Regions from separate parts of the Homo sapiens genome. Here region 2 is linked to region 1. The links are contacts of gene promoters, found by promoter capture Hi-C in blood cells and fetal thymus (Javierre and others, 2016). All regions are on one chromosome and are shown on one strand. The core of a region is centred on a gene start or on the middle of the fragment in contact, and the rest is flanking DNA. Distances in the headings are between cores, read along the strand shown. Region 1 holds the start of MAP2K4 (mitogen-activated protein kinase kinase 4). Region 2 overlaps MAP2K4 (mitogen-activated protein kinase kinase 4).

The links. Contacts are between HindIII fragments. The CHiCAGO score rates a contact against its expected background, and 5 or more counts as called.
Region 2: a contact is called between a fragment that was not itself captured here and the fragment with the promoter of MAP2K4 in region 1, in 2 of 17 cell types (activated CD4 T cells and neutrophils). The highest score is 6.2, in activated CD4 T cells.

What each region holds. Positions count from the first base shown.
Region 1 is chr17:12,017,282-12,023,595 of GRCh38, reverse strand. MAP2K4 (mitogen-activated protein kinase kinase 4) reads right to left here and starts at 2,719. Exons shown (of 11, transcript NM_003010.4): 1 at 2,595-2,719. The coding sequence starts at 2,709. It also overlaps a transcript of ZNF18 not described here. RefSeq lists a silencer at 2,003-2,882 and an enhancer at 2,419-2,919. The HindIII fragment of the contact is 6,257 bases long and covers 1,064-6,314 here.
Region 2 is chr17:12,131,488-12,138,826 of GRCh38, reverse strand. All of the region lies in intron 9 of MAP2K4 (mitogen-activated protein kinase kinase 4), which reads right to left. Among named protein-coding and RNA genes, the nearest start is that of MIR744, 53 kb to the right of the region's middle. The HindIII fragment of the contact is 1,152 bases long and covers 4,829-5,980 here.

The sequences.
Region 1 (6,314 bases), core at 1,470-3,969:
ACTGCATGAAACATTCCTTATGTTCCACAACTGAATCCTGCTGTTTCAGAGAGCATGGTCATTAACAACTCCCAGAAAGGAAGTTTTTTGAGTGGCAAGTATAATTAGATTGGGGGAGAAGGAATGGAAGTACATCAAACATCTTCTAAGGCCCACTCTGTGAAGTCTGATCTAAAGCAAAAGAAGACCCTTGGCAGATGAAGTACAGTATGGGAGGTGTGACTCCCATACAATTGGATGGGAATCTTTCTTTTTGGGTTCTTATAAGATTTCCTCTTCAAGGGCCTCACAATTAAGATACAGAACAAAACAAACCAAAAAGAAGGATCCTAAATTGCTGCTTAAGTTCAAGCTTTATAACAGACTGTTCTAGACAACATCCTGAGAATATCAAGCACTTCATTCTGACTAATGAAAAAAGTTTCAAGAACAAGATATAACACATTCCTGAATCAATCAAGACTAGACACAATATTGATAAAAAAGAAAATTCGGCAATAATTCATAGAGAGGTCTTAGGTCCTTTTTCCTTCTAAAATGGGTTCTGCTTATTAGAAAGTTTAGTTAACTGGGTATCAACATACAAGGGCTGAGGAGAACGGACAGCATCAGAAAAAGTCCTAACCACTGCCTTAGGAGTTCCTAGAACACTCCAAGCTCTTCCCTGCTTTGGAACCTTCATACACACAGTTCCTCTGCCTAGAACCGTCTTCAGGTAAAAGAGGGTTAGCTTTCCAGACAAGCCTTCTCTGACCATCTTATCAAGCGGACTGCCCTCTATTATCTTCTATCACAAAACCCAGCTTGTTACCTTTATTACTTTTCCAACTAGTAATTTTTCATGTTTAGCTAAATAGCCTTCCCTCCCCCATCTTCACAGGGGGATAACCTCCATGAGGACAGTTAGAGATGTTCAATTCTCTATAAACTCAGCATGAGCGTTTTATGCAGATGCTCAATAAATATTTTTTGAACCAAAAAAACACACTGTATCCAGCTATTTCAAACTGTCAGCCTCCCCACCAATAAAACAAACAAACAAATCACCTTGTTTTTATAAGCTTTGTAAGTCACCCATCTGGAACAAGAAATACAATCCTAAATTGTCATTTTGCCATTTCATTTCGCCCCAACCACCACCACCTAAATTGTAAAGCTGTACAGTCAGGAAGTCAATCTTATACTTCATCAGTATAATGTGCTGTGCAACACAGTGGGCATCCAATAACTAATTCAATTTGAATGAATTATCTGAGGGCCTGCACAGAAAGTGTCCTCTAAGCTCTGACATCATCCTGTCTATATATCTATCACTGGTTTTTATGTATATTAAAATTATTTCATGGGGAGGGTGACAGGGATGTAAAGATAAATAAAATCCTGTCTCTTCTTTCTGAATTATGGCATGCTCTATAAACATGAACTATTCAATAAATGTCTGTTGAACCTAACTAAATGCTAGAAGCCCTTTAAGAGGAATGGAATCAAAAAGTAACCATGGTCACACTGACTACCAAGGGTACCCCAACCCTTATTCTGTTAATAATTCAACACAAGCAGTTTGCTAAAGTTGTCAAGAGAGTTCTGAGATTCCCTGTTTTAAAAATAGCATTACTACTCAAAATTCCCCAGTAAATTTAAGGAAATGGTCCCTAACAGGCTCGGGCCTGGCCTGGTATTTTCACAACACCCCCTGTCAAAAGCCATACACAGCTAATAAGCATTCCCAGTGGGGAAAGTCATTAATTAGCAGAGCTGCCTCAAATGTCCAGACACTACAGTATCACTTTGACCCCTGTCTATTTCCTGTATCTCTCCATTTAAACCAAATTAAGTCTTCTTTTTTTTTTTTTTTTTTTTTCTTCCTGCACGCAATGCTAACACAGAAATCCCTGGCCTGGAACAAAATGCCTCTCCCAGGCCAATGCAGCCTACCTACCTTACAGGTGGCACAGGCCTGGGCAACCCGCCCCCCACCCCCATCCCTTCCAGCGCACAGAAACCCTGCAAAAGTTTGAAAACGCAGGTTCCAAGAGGCCCCCGTAGCCCGAGGTCAGCTCGGTGGTCCGGCTCCAGCTGTGCCCGGCGACAGCCAAGATGGCCCTGAGCGGGGCCCACTGCGGCGGCGGGGCCGAGGGGCGCCGGCCGGGGCCGCTGTCTTCGCCGCCTACCTGAGCGGCGTCAGGGACCAGGGGGCAGGCCCGACGCCCCTCCCGCTCCGCCGCAGCCCCGAGCCGGCGCGTTCCCGGAAACGGGGGCCGGGCGGGCGCCAGGTAAGCGGCGGGGGCGATGGGGACGGCCGCGGGGGCGGTCCCGGACCAGGTGGGCCCTGCGGGCCTGCTGAGAGCCCGGTAGGGCCCAGGGGCCAAGCGCAGGCAGAGGCCGCGGCCGGGGCCTATGCGGGCCGGAGCCCGGATCCAAGCCGGGCCGGAGGCGGCCGGGAGCGGGGCGGGAAGCCGGGGAGGGAGAGAGGGAGAAGCCGGCGGCTGCCGTGGCTTCCTCAGCCGGGTCCGGGGGCGTCCGCTGGGGCAGGCCGCGACGACGCGGGTTGCCGCGCTAGGGGGCTGGGATCTCGGCGCGGCCGCGTTCCTTACCCTGCATGCTGCTGACGGCCGGGTGGCCTGGCGCCGGGGACCCTACGGGGCCGGGGGTGCCGCTGCCGCTGCCGCCCCCGGAGCCGCCGCCGCCGCTCGGGCTCGGAGCCGCCATTGTTGGGAGTGAAGAGCCGAGCGGCGCCGCGGCGGCTGCAATGCAGCAAGCTCGGCCTCTCGCACGGCCGAGGGGCGAGGCTTACCCCCGCCTTGGCCCCGCCTCCGACACGCCCCGGACACGCCTCCTGACACGCCCCCGCCAGAGCCCGACGCGCAGCCCGGGCCAGATGCTGAGCTGCAGAACCGCCCGGCTCTGGGTGCGCGACCTGTGAAGCAGACAGCTGTCTTGGACCAGGGCTGCGGGCCCGCGGGGCCTAAAGTGGTTTGCAGAATTAAAGGTGGGCCTGCATTTGTGCGGAAAGAAGGTACGCAGCTTTCATCATTCCCATGGAGGTCTGTGACTCCCAAAAGTCCACTTTGTTGGAATCTCAGAACCCCAAATCAGAATAGTAAAGCTGAAAAGGATCCCAGGGATCCCTTTCTCCTCCAGTCGCTAACACATCACTTCCAGAAGGGAGTTACCTAGAGCTATGGTTACAGTCTGGAACTCCTCTTAAGCCCAATACCCCAACCCTCTACACTTCTCTGAGGGGAAAGGGGAGTCCCAAGGGGAACTAACCAAAGTGCTGTCCATGGACCCATCCCAAAACTACTGAATTAGAGGTTACATTTTAATAATACCACCAGGTAATTTGTATGCCCATTAAATTTGAGAAGCATATATTTAAGCACTCGACACTTCCCAGCCTCCTGAAATATGCTATCTACATCACCATCTTCCCCTAAATGCACACTGGATTCCCTCTCCCAAATCCTTTACATCTTGTATAAGACGAGCCGTAGTCATTATTGTAAGTTACATAAAATGACAACCCCAAAAAACAATATGAGGTTTCTTCCATTGCTTTGCACAGAGACTTTTATTTTAGGAAGACAGTAGCTAAAAGAAGAAAAAGTTCTCTATGAGGCTACGATTTGTAAGCCAACCATAATGTACTCGAAATGGTAAGACATGGGTTTCTGGCCAGGCAGCCTTGCCTAAAATGGAATAGCCAGTTATCCTACTTCCCAAAGAATCTAAGCCATGGAGCTGGACATTTTCTCCCATTTAGAAGCATTGTGTGATCTACAGCTAGACTTCTTTCCCAAAACTTCTTCCACCCAGATGTTATTTGATGCTGAGAGTTCTTCACAGCATGTTGGAAATGTGTCCTGGGTCAAAATAGCCCTGCCTTCTTGTTCCAAACCCAATTTCATCCATCATCTTGATGGCTCAGATCCTAAAAGTGGCTAGCCGTAAACATCAAGTGGAGAGGCATTAAAGGCAAATTGAAGGTGAGAGCAGGTAGGTGTACTTCAGTGGAGAGCCCGCCAGAATTCTCCTCCATGGGCCTCGTTGGCTGCCCAATATCTTCAAGTCCAGGTCTTATAAACATGGCCAGATTCCCATCTGGAAATCAGTAGCCCACCCAGCTCTTGTTGCTCCTAGGGCATCTTAATTATGAGCCATCATAACTGGCCTTTAATAAGAATTTAATATATATTCTTTTAATAGAAATCCTAGAAGCAGCACTACAGATTAGGCAACTACTAGAAAATTAATTTAAACACACACACACACACACACACACACACACACACACACACACATCCAATATTATAAATAACATATATTAAAGAAGGCTGGGGATGTTGGCTCACACCTGTAATCCCAGCACTTTGGGAGGCCAAGGCGGGTGGATTACGTGAGGTCAGGAGTTAGTGACCAGCCTGGCCAACGTGGTGAAACCCTGTCTCTACTAAAAATACAGAAAAAAACAAAAATTAGCCGGTGTGGTGGCAGGTACCTATAATCCCAGCTACTAGGGAGGCTGAGGCAGGAGAATCGCTTGAACCTGGGAGGCAGAGGTTGCAGTGAGCCGAGATTGTGCCACTGCACTCCAGCCTGGGTGACAGAGCAAGACTCCATCTATTAAAAAAAATATGTATATATATAGTTATATTTATATATATATAGGAAAACCTTCAACCTAGCAAATTCATTAAGGGAAATTGGGAAACTGAATTAAAAGAGAAATACAATAAAAATATAACTAATCTTATTTTTAAGAATACCTAATTCTGAGTTTGTGATAAAACTGACATATACTTGCATTGCTGTTGGTATTGTAAACTAGTAAGAGCCAATAATTAGATGTGCATATGGCAAAAACAAGAAAGCACTTTGATTTGTTCCAACTGAGGAAGCTATGTATGAGCTTTTTAACTTTTTCTTATGCTCACATTTCTCTTACATATTTGTGTTTTATGATTTCTTATGGACTAAATTGTATTCTGCTCCCTCACCAAATTTACATGTTGGAGTCCTAACCCCCAGCATCTCAGAATGGGACTATATTTGGAAATAGGGTCTTTAAAGTAAAATGAGGTCATACGAGTGGGCCCTAATCCAATAGGACTGGTGTCTTTATAAAGAGATTAGGATGCAGACACACAGAGCTAGGAGAAGATGATCATCTACAAGCCACAGAGTGTGTCCTCAAAAGACACCAACTCTGCCTACACCTTGGACTTCCAGCCTCCATAACTGTGAGAAAATACATTTATGTTGTTTATTGGTTCTTTTGCTATGACATCCCTTAGCAAACTAATACACAGTTCAGAAAAATGAATTGCTTAAAAAAAGTTAACCTTTTTAGTAATAATGGTGGTAGCTGGCATAATCACTGGGGAGACGGGAAGGCAATTAAGCAATACATATGAATAACCAGCAAATTTACATTTATAAGATATCCTTGAGGAAATCCCCAAATGGGCCTGAAACTCCTGGCTCTGCCATGTAGTGATTTTATCTTCCCACTAGAGTAGATGAAAATAACAAATTAAGATGATTTCTAAGAGGAATGTATGGCAATATCAAAGTCCCCCATCCTGAAAGAGGCTGCAGAGAAAGAGTAACGTCTGTGTATTCCTTGCTTAGAGAACCTTTGTTGAGAAATCTAGCTTGCTTGTTTTTTATGATACATATGTCAATGGTTAGACTAAAAATACATTTTTTTTTTTTTTTGAGATGGTGTTTCGCTCTTGTTGCCCAGGCTGGAGTGCAATGGCGCGATCTCGGCTCACTGCAACCTCCGCTTCCTGGGCACAAGTGATTCTCCTGCCTCAGCCTCCCGAGTAGCTGGGATTACAGGCATGTGCCACCACACCTGGTTAATTTTTTACTTTTAGTAGAGACGGGGTTTCACCATATTGTTCAGGCTGGTCTCGAACTCCCGACCTTAGGTGATCTGCCTGCCTCAGCCTCCCAAAATGCTGGGATTACAAGGGTGAGCCACTGCACCCAGCCTCAAGAATACATTTTTCATTTCACATTCCAAATAAAGAAAAAGTAATTTACAACTGGATTTCACCTTAGGACCCCAATTTCAGCCTCTGGGAAAGAAACAAGGTCAGACACCTCTATTTGGATGGAACAGTCACCAGATATTCCATATAGCCTTAGCAATTGTCTTTGAGCAAAACGCCCACCCTCAAATTGCCAAGGGCTCAGGACCAGGCCACCCAGTGACGGATGTTGCCTCTTCAGGCAGAGAGCTGCAAGCTGTGCAGGTTTCTGGATGTCATTCGAGCACTGAATTTAATTGGAAATACAGGGCCTGT
Region 2 (7,339 bases), core at 4,155-6,654, 110 kb before region 1:
GTTGGCTGAGGCCTTCAATGACATGGCACTGCAACTGAACTTCTTCTGCCCAATCTCGTTTCCTTCTCATTGGTAGTGTTGATCCCAAGATCACTACCTAGTCAACTTCCTACACTCTTATCTCTGTCTCAAAAGCCTGCTTTCCAGGCATCCAACCTGTGACATCCTTCTTCTGGGTTAACTTCTCTTCTTGGTCAAGTACAGATGGCCCTTGAGCAACACAGATTTCAACTGTACAAATCCACTTATACATGGATTTTTCTTCTGCCTCTGCCACCCGAGATAGCAAGACCAACTCCTCCTCTTCCTCAGTCTATTCAATGTGAAGACAAGGATGAAGATCTTTATGATGATCCACTTCCACTTCATAAATAATATATTTTCTCTTCCTTATGATTTTCTTAATAACATTTTCTTTTCTCTAGCTTACTTCATTGTAATAATACAGTATATAATACATATACAAAATATATGTTAACTATGTTATCAGTAAGGCTTCTGGTTGACAGTAGGCTATTTGTTAGTAGTCAAGTTTTGGGGTAATCAAAAGTTATATGCGGATTTTTGACTGTACAGGGGGTCAGCATCCCTAACCTCCACACCATTCAAGGATCAAAGCAGTCTATAAATTGTAAGTGCTCAGTCTTCCCATTCCTAAAACTGTATTTCTTCCTTACTGTGAATATTTGAGTGTCTGAGTCTAAAACTTTAGGACCAGGCTGACAATTATTTTCCCTCAGCACTCTGGTGCTGTGACTCCACTTTTTCCTGCAACTATTGTGGCTGGGAACAAATCTGCTGTTAGTCTTATTATCAATCCTTAACAGATAATCTGTTTTCTCTTCCTGATATTGCTCGGTAATTTTGCTTCAATACATAAATGATGATAAACAAAGGTATAAATTTAAAGGTAAATTTAAATATAAATTTAAAAGGTAAATTTATACCTTTGTTTATCATTTATGCACTGAAGCAAAACTACAGAATATCAATTAAAATTTACTTTTAAATTTATATTTAAATTTACCTTTAAGCTTATACCTTTGTTTATCCTACATGATAAAGAGACTTCACTTTCAATCTGAAAACCTATACTAAATCAGTTCTCAAATGTTTTCTTTCCCCTATGATCTCTGTAAACATTGCTTCTCCACTTTCAGAGTTGCCTTCTTTATTTCCATTACATGCATCTTAGAACCTCTAACTCTGCAATCTGTTCTGATTCTTCACTGCTTTTCATATAATCTGTGCCATGCTGGGGGAACGTCTCAGCTCCTATTTCCCTAATTTTGTCTTCAATTATTTCCAGTCTAGAGAACATCAAGTCTGTTGTGTCTTTTATATCAACAGCTATGATTTTTCCATTTCCAAGACTTCTATTTCCAACCACTTTATTTCTTCCTCAGTTTTAATTGAATTTATACCTTTATTTCCTTGAGCATCCTAAATATACTGATTTTCTTTTACAGCATATTTCAGACAATTTCATAAATCTATTTCAACTTAAAGTAAGTTTCTGTTCCATTTTGTTAAATGCTTTCTTAGCATTACACTTCAGTATTCAAGAATTATGATTTGCAGACTCATTTTGAAATAACATGTTTACCCTCCATGCATATCCATTCATTTGTTCAACATATGTCTGAGTGCCCCACTAATCACTATGAACTGAACTGGGAGCCAGGGATACACACATAGAGCAGTTTTACAGTTGCCTCTATTTCACAGGGCCACCAGTATCAAACAGGGTCCTGTAATGGACCTTTCAAGTTCCACTCCTATGTTGGTATTAGGACAATTACAGTTCCAGTCCTCTGGTTGCAAAACCAGTATCTAAAGCCTTGTCATTGTGTAGTACCATAGCTTGCTTAAAGCTGTGGCCCAGGAAGTAACTGATATCATTTTTTTCATTCTCCAGAATGAAAAATGACCTGGAATACAGCAAGTCCATGGCATCAGATCTACACAGCATTCTGTCAGTATTTTTGTTGCATTTTTTCACCCACACAGAGGTTTGCTTTCTTTGTAAAGCTGCCATACCTTTCTGGTTTTGTGTTTTTCTATTTCATCTACTGGAGCAGAAAATTATGTCAGTGTATAAACTTATGATGCTATTTGGGTTGAAATCTTAAACTATTAACATTGACTGTCTTCTTTTTCTGAATTACAGCTGACACTAATAATGTTATCAATAATTATATTAGCTCCCCTTAGACTATCTAATAAGGTAGCCGTTAGCAAACTTAATTCCAATAAAAAATGCATTTCCTTAGTTACATTAGCCACATTTCAAATGCCAGCAGCTACCACACTAGACAGAGCAGATTATAGGACATTTCCAGCATCTCAAAAAGTTTTATTGGGAGAGCTTCAGCTCTGTCTTCTAGTTCATTAATCTCTCTTCAATGATATCTAATCTGTTGAATGCAGCTATTGTTTTAATTTATGCTTTTTATTTCTAGAAGTTCTATTTGGTTCTTTATAAATGTGTTCCCTGCTTATATTTCTAAGCTGCCTCTTTTTCTTTAAACTTATTTTTTGTTTCCTTTCATTCCAATATTTGAAGCCTTTGCAGATCTATTCCTACTATCCATTGTTTCTGATTCTCATTTCTTTTGTGAGTGTTGAGATTTTTTTGTGGACTACATATTCCACTTGACTTTATTTTTTGGAATCATTTAGTCCTAGGCTGAATGATTTGCTTTTGCTTCTGCCCATCAACTGGGGGCAAGAGGAGCATATCTTTCCAACCAGGGACTCTGAAAAGTAATTTTTCTTAAAATTAAATTCTCTAAGTATTTTTACCATATTCAATATGAATTTAGATGGCAAATCTACATTTGCTTGGGTTATCCTTTAATTTACTTTGACTCTTCCTTCTCTCCCATAATCTCCCTCCCTGAATTTCAGTCAACTTCAGAGCTCCATGGATTCCTCAGTTTTGCACCAACTCTTTTACATTTTAAGAGGGACTTTAGGTGGGGCACGATGGTTCACCCCTGTAATGCCAGAACTTTGGGAGGCTGAGGCAGGCGGATCACCTGAGGTCAGGAGTTCGAGACTAGCCTGGCCAACGTGGCAAAACCCTGTCTGTACTAAAAATACAAAAATTAGCTGGGAGTGGTGGTGCGTGCCTGTAGTCCCAGCTACTCAGGAGGCTGAGACAGGAGAATCACTTGAACCTGGGAGGTGGAGGCTGCAGTGAGCCAAGATCATGCCACTGCACTCCAGCCTGTGCGACAGAGCCAGACTCTGTCCTAAATAAATAAATGGCACTTTAAAATGCTTATCCAGGCCAGGTACAGTGGCTCACGCCACTGTAATCCCAATACTCCGGGAAGCCGAGGCAGGAGGATCGCTTAAGCCTAGGAGTTTAAGACCAACCAGGGTAATACAGTGAAATCCAGTCTCTACAAAAATTTTTTTAAGAAATTAGCCAGGTGGGCCAGGCGCAGTGGCTCGCGCCTGTAATCCCAACACTTTGGGAGGCCGAGGCAGGCGGATCACCTGAGGTCAAGAGCTGACCAACCTGACCAACATGGAGAAACCCCAACTCTACTAAAAATACAAAATTAGCCAGGTGTGGTGGTGCATGCCTGTAATCCAGCTACTCTGGAGGCTGAGGCAGGAGAATCACTTGAAACCGGGAGGTTGAGGCTGCGGTGAGCCGAGATCATGCCATTGCACTCCAGCCTGGGCAACAAGAGCAAAAGTCCGTCTCAAAACAAAAAAGCAAAAAACAACAAAAAAACAAAAATTAGCCAGGTGTAGTGGCACATTCCTGTAGTCCCAGCTACTCGGGGGGCTGAGATGGGAGGATCGCTTGAGCCTGGGAAGTTGAGGTTGCAGTAAGCTGCAATCATGCCACTGCACTCCAGTCTGGGTGACAGAGTGAGTGAGACCCTATCTCAAAATAAATAAAATAAAAAGCTTATCCAGCATTTTAGTAGTTTCAGTGCAAGTGTTGTCCAAGATATCTAATGCACCAAAGTAATGTGAAGTAACCACATTCCTCCTGTTATAGCTGTTTCTCTGCTCTTCAGGTATTGCTGACTTGGTGTTTTGTGTACATTTGTGTGCATGTGTTTTAATTGAAAACTTGTCAAGTCTTATCTTTTCTCAGAACACATCTAGATGTGGCTTCCCTCTACTCTCTTGTTTAATTTGGTCTGGTATTTTAATCTAAGAACTTGAGTTATTCTTCAAGTAGAAGGAATTTTAATTTTAATTCTTTGTCTACAATCAGCTAAATAGAATATTTTGGATTTTTCTTCTCTCTTACCATTTACCTCATGTTCATCTTTTTAGCCCTTTATTCTTAAAGATTAACTAAACGGTGTTACTTACAGATCTGGTTAACCTGCAATACTCAATCTGCTGTGTGCCACCATTTTCCCCCATTCAGTTCAGGAATCATGTTTACTATCTGAAGATAACGTTTCTGGAATTCAAATTATTCCCTCCTTACAATTTTTTACCTTGTTTTTTTTTCTGTGACATTTTAAAGGAAATATTTGTTTAGATTTCTTAGGTACAATTCTCCGAATCACTGAAAGTTTTCATCTGTTAGTGATTTTTCTTTATCACAGTTAATCTCAGCTATGGATTCAGGTTAACTGTGAGAAACAGGTGGAGAGCCATCATTGCAGTATCATCACCTAGGTGGAGAGCCATCATTGCAGTATCATCACCTAGGTGGAGAGCCATCACTGCAGCATCATCACCTACTATAGGGATTTAATTTTTGCATTTGCTCTAACAGCATGCACTGTGCTCCCGCCCTCTAACCAACACAGGCGTTGTTGTTAGAAGTTATTTCAGCAAAGCTTGAGCTTTTCTTTACAGGTCTTGCTGCTAAGAGAAAGGCAGGAGTAGATACTACTACACTGTCCCAGCTGCCTGTGAGATCTAGCACAGAAGGCATTTCCTCAAGACATTTCAGGATCGAGCTTTACTGCCTAATTAGTTGCACAATTAGGCAGTCCCACAAGTTGCCTCTTCTTCCAGGTCTGCTGCCCAAGCTACAGAGTTGTATATGGGTCTTATATCGTCCTAGTGACTTTTTATATTCCCCTCTGCACACGATAAATTTTGGATTAGGCAATCCATCCCTGAATTCAGTCTTATCCCCATCCAGAGTTTCACAAAAATTCCTCAAGAATAACATTTTTTGTTTTTTCTTCCCCCAGGACAAATAAAGAATTTTTCCCCTAAAAAAAATTCCAATGGTGATTTCAATAGATAGTTAAATTGGGAAACAGTTTAAAATATGGGCTGAGATCTGAGGAGAGCAAAATCACTTGGTGACCACTGAACAGGCCCTAGAGACAAAAATTCCTTATCTGAGGAATGCAGAAGGAGCAAAAACCACCCGATGACTATCCAACAGGCAATCTAGAAGCAAAATTCCTTATCTGGGGAAAATCAGAAGTAATTAAACTTCCCAGCCTGGCGCAGTGGCTCACGCCTGTAATCCCAGCACTCTGGGAGGCTGAAGCGGGCGGATTACTTGAGGTCAGCAGTTCAAGACCAGCCTGGCCAGTGTGGTGAAACCCCATCTCTATTAAACATACATAAATTAGCCAGGCATGGTGGCATGAGCCTGTAGTCCCAGCTACTTAGGAGGCTGAGGCAGGAGAATCGCTTGAACCTGTGAGGCAGAGGTTGCAGTGAGCTGAGATCGCGCCACTACACTCCAGCCTGGGCGACAGAGCAAGGCTCCATATTAAAAACAACAACAACAACAACAACAACAAAACCCAAGAAGTAATCAGACTTCCCTATTATCTAAAGCAGGCATTGGTTCCAGATTTTTTCCCCAAAAAAACTTTGTAAGTAACTAGAATTTCTATACATCTCCAGAATGCCATGTCGAAATTCACTGTGCAACACTTGCTGACATTAAGGAACCAAAATTACTACAAATGTAATCATTTATTGTTACCTACATGGCTAATATGGTCCAAATTATCCTCAAGCTTTAAGGTCCATAAATACCCCTAAGGAAAAATCCACTGTGGCACGCTCAGCACCCTTCTGCACTCTTCTGCAGCATACTTTCTTTCTAATAAACTTTCCTTTTTCAAACCTATACTGTTGTCTGTAAATTCTTTTTATCAACCCACGAGTCGACCATTTCCCAATGCTGAGCGCTCAGACACCTCAGTCGGCAAGGTCTTCCTTTTGAACCATTAAGTCTTATCCTTTTTTTTTTTTCCTTAGGAAAACTTTTAATCGAAGCAGACATACAGAAAACACAACTCCTAAGTGCAGAACTAAAAAGTAACAATATTCTGACTTCCAATACCTTATATTGTTTGCTTTTAACTTTCATATAGAAATAGAACCATACATACTGCTTTCTGTCTTCTTTCACTCAACATCATTCGTGAGATTTACTGAAGTTGCTGAGTGAAGCAATGGTTCTATCTTCTCTGATGCTATATACTGCTGTATACATAATGCTACAATTTATTATCTGTTCTACTGTGGAGAGAGTTTCTAATTGTAGGTTATAAATGTGCTTTTCCGGACATTCTTACATATGTCTTTTAGTGTATTTATGTCCACACTTTTGTTGGGTATATAGTCAGAACTTGAATTGCTGAACCATGGTGTATACATCAACCATATTAGATCAGCTATACTGGATACTGCTTGTTTTTCAAAGGAACTGTACTAATTTATACTCCTACAAGTTATGTATGAGACTTCCAGTTGCTTCAGATCCTCACCAATATTTGGTACTGTCAGTATTTTAAACTGTGGTCATTCTGGTAATTATAGTGGTATTTCACTGTAGTTCTGACCTGCATGTCTCCTGATTACTAATAATGCAGAATGAATGCAGTAAATTGAATATGTTTACTGGCCTCTTGAATATCATCTTTAAAGTGCCTTTCAAGTATTTTGCTATTTTTGGTTGTTATTTTTCATAAGTGTTTTACATTTTTAAGTATTCTTTACATATTCTGTGTAAAAGTCCTTCGTCGAATATAAGTATGAAAAATATCTCCTTCTACTGTGTGGCTTGGCATGTCATTCAGTGCTGTCTTTTAATCAATGGAAGTTCTTAATTTTAATGAAATCCATTTTTTTTTAATCAATCTTTCTCTTAGGTTTGGCTACTTTCTACGTTCTGTTTCAGAAATCTTTACCCAAACGTAATGAAAACATTCTCCCATATTATCCTGTATGTGCTTTTAATTTATGTAACTGAAGAAATTCAGTTTGGCAGAAACCATTCAAGGAGAGGGAAGTCATGAGAAATGTGGCTAGAGCGGGCCGGGGGCAGTGGCTCATGCCTGTAATCCCAGCGCTCTGGGAGGTCGAGGCGGGC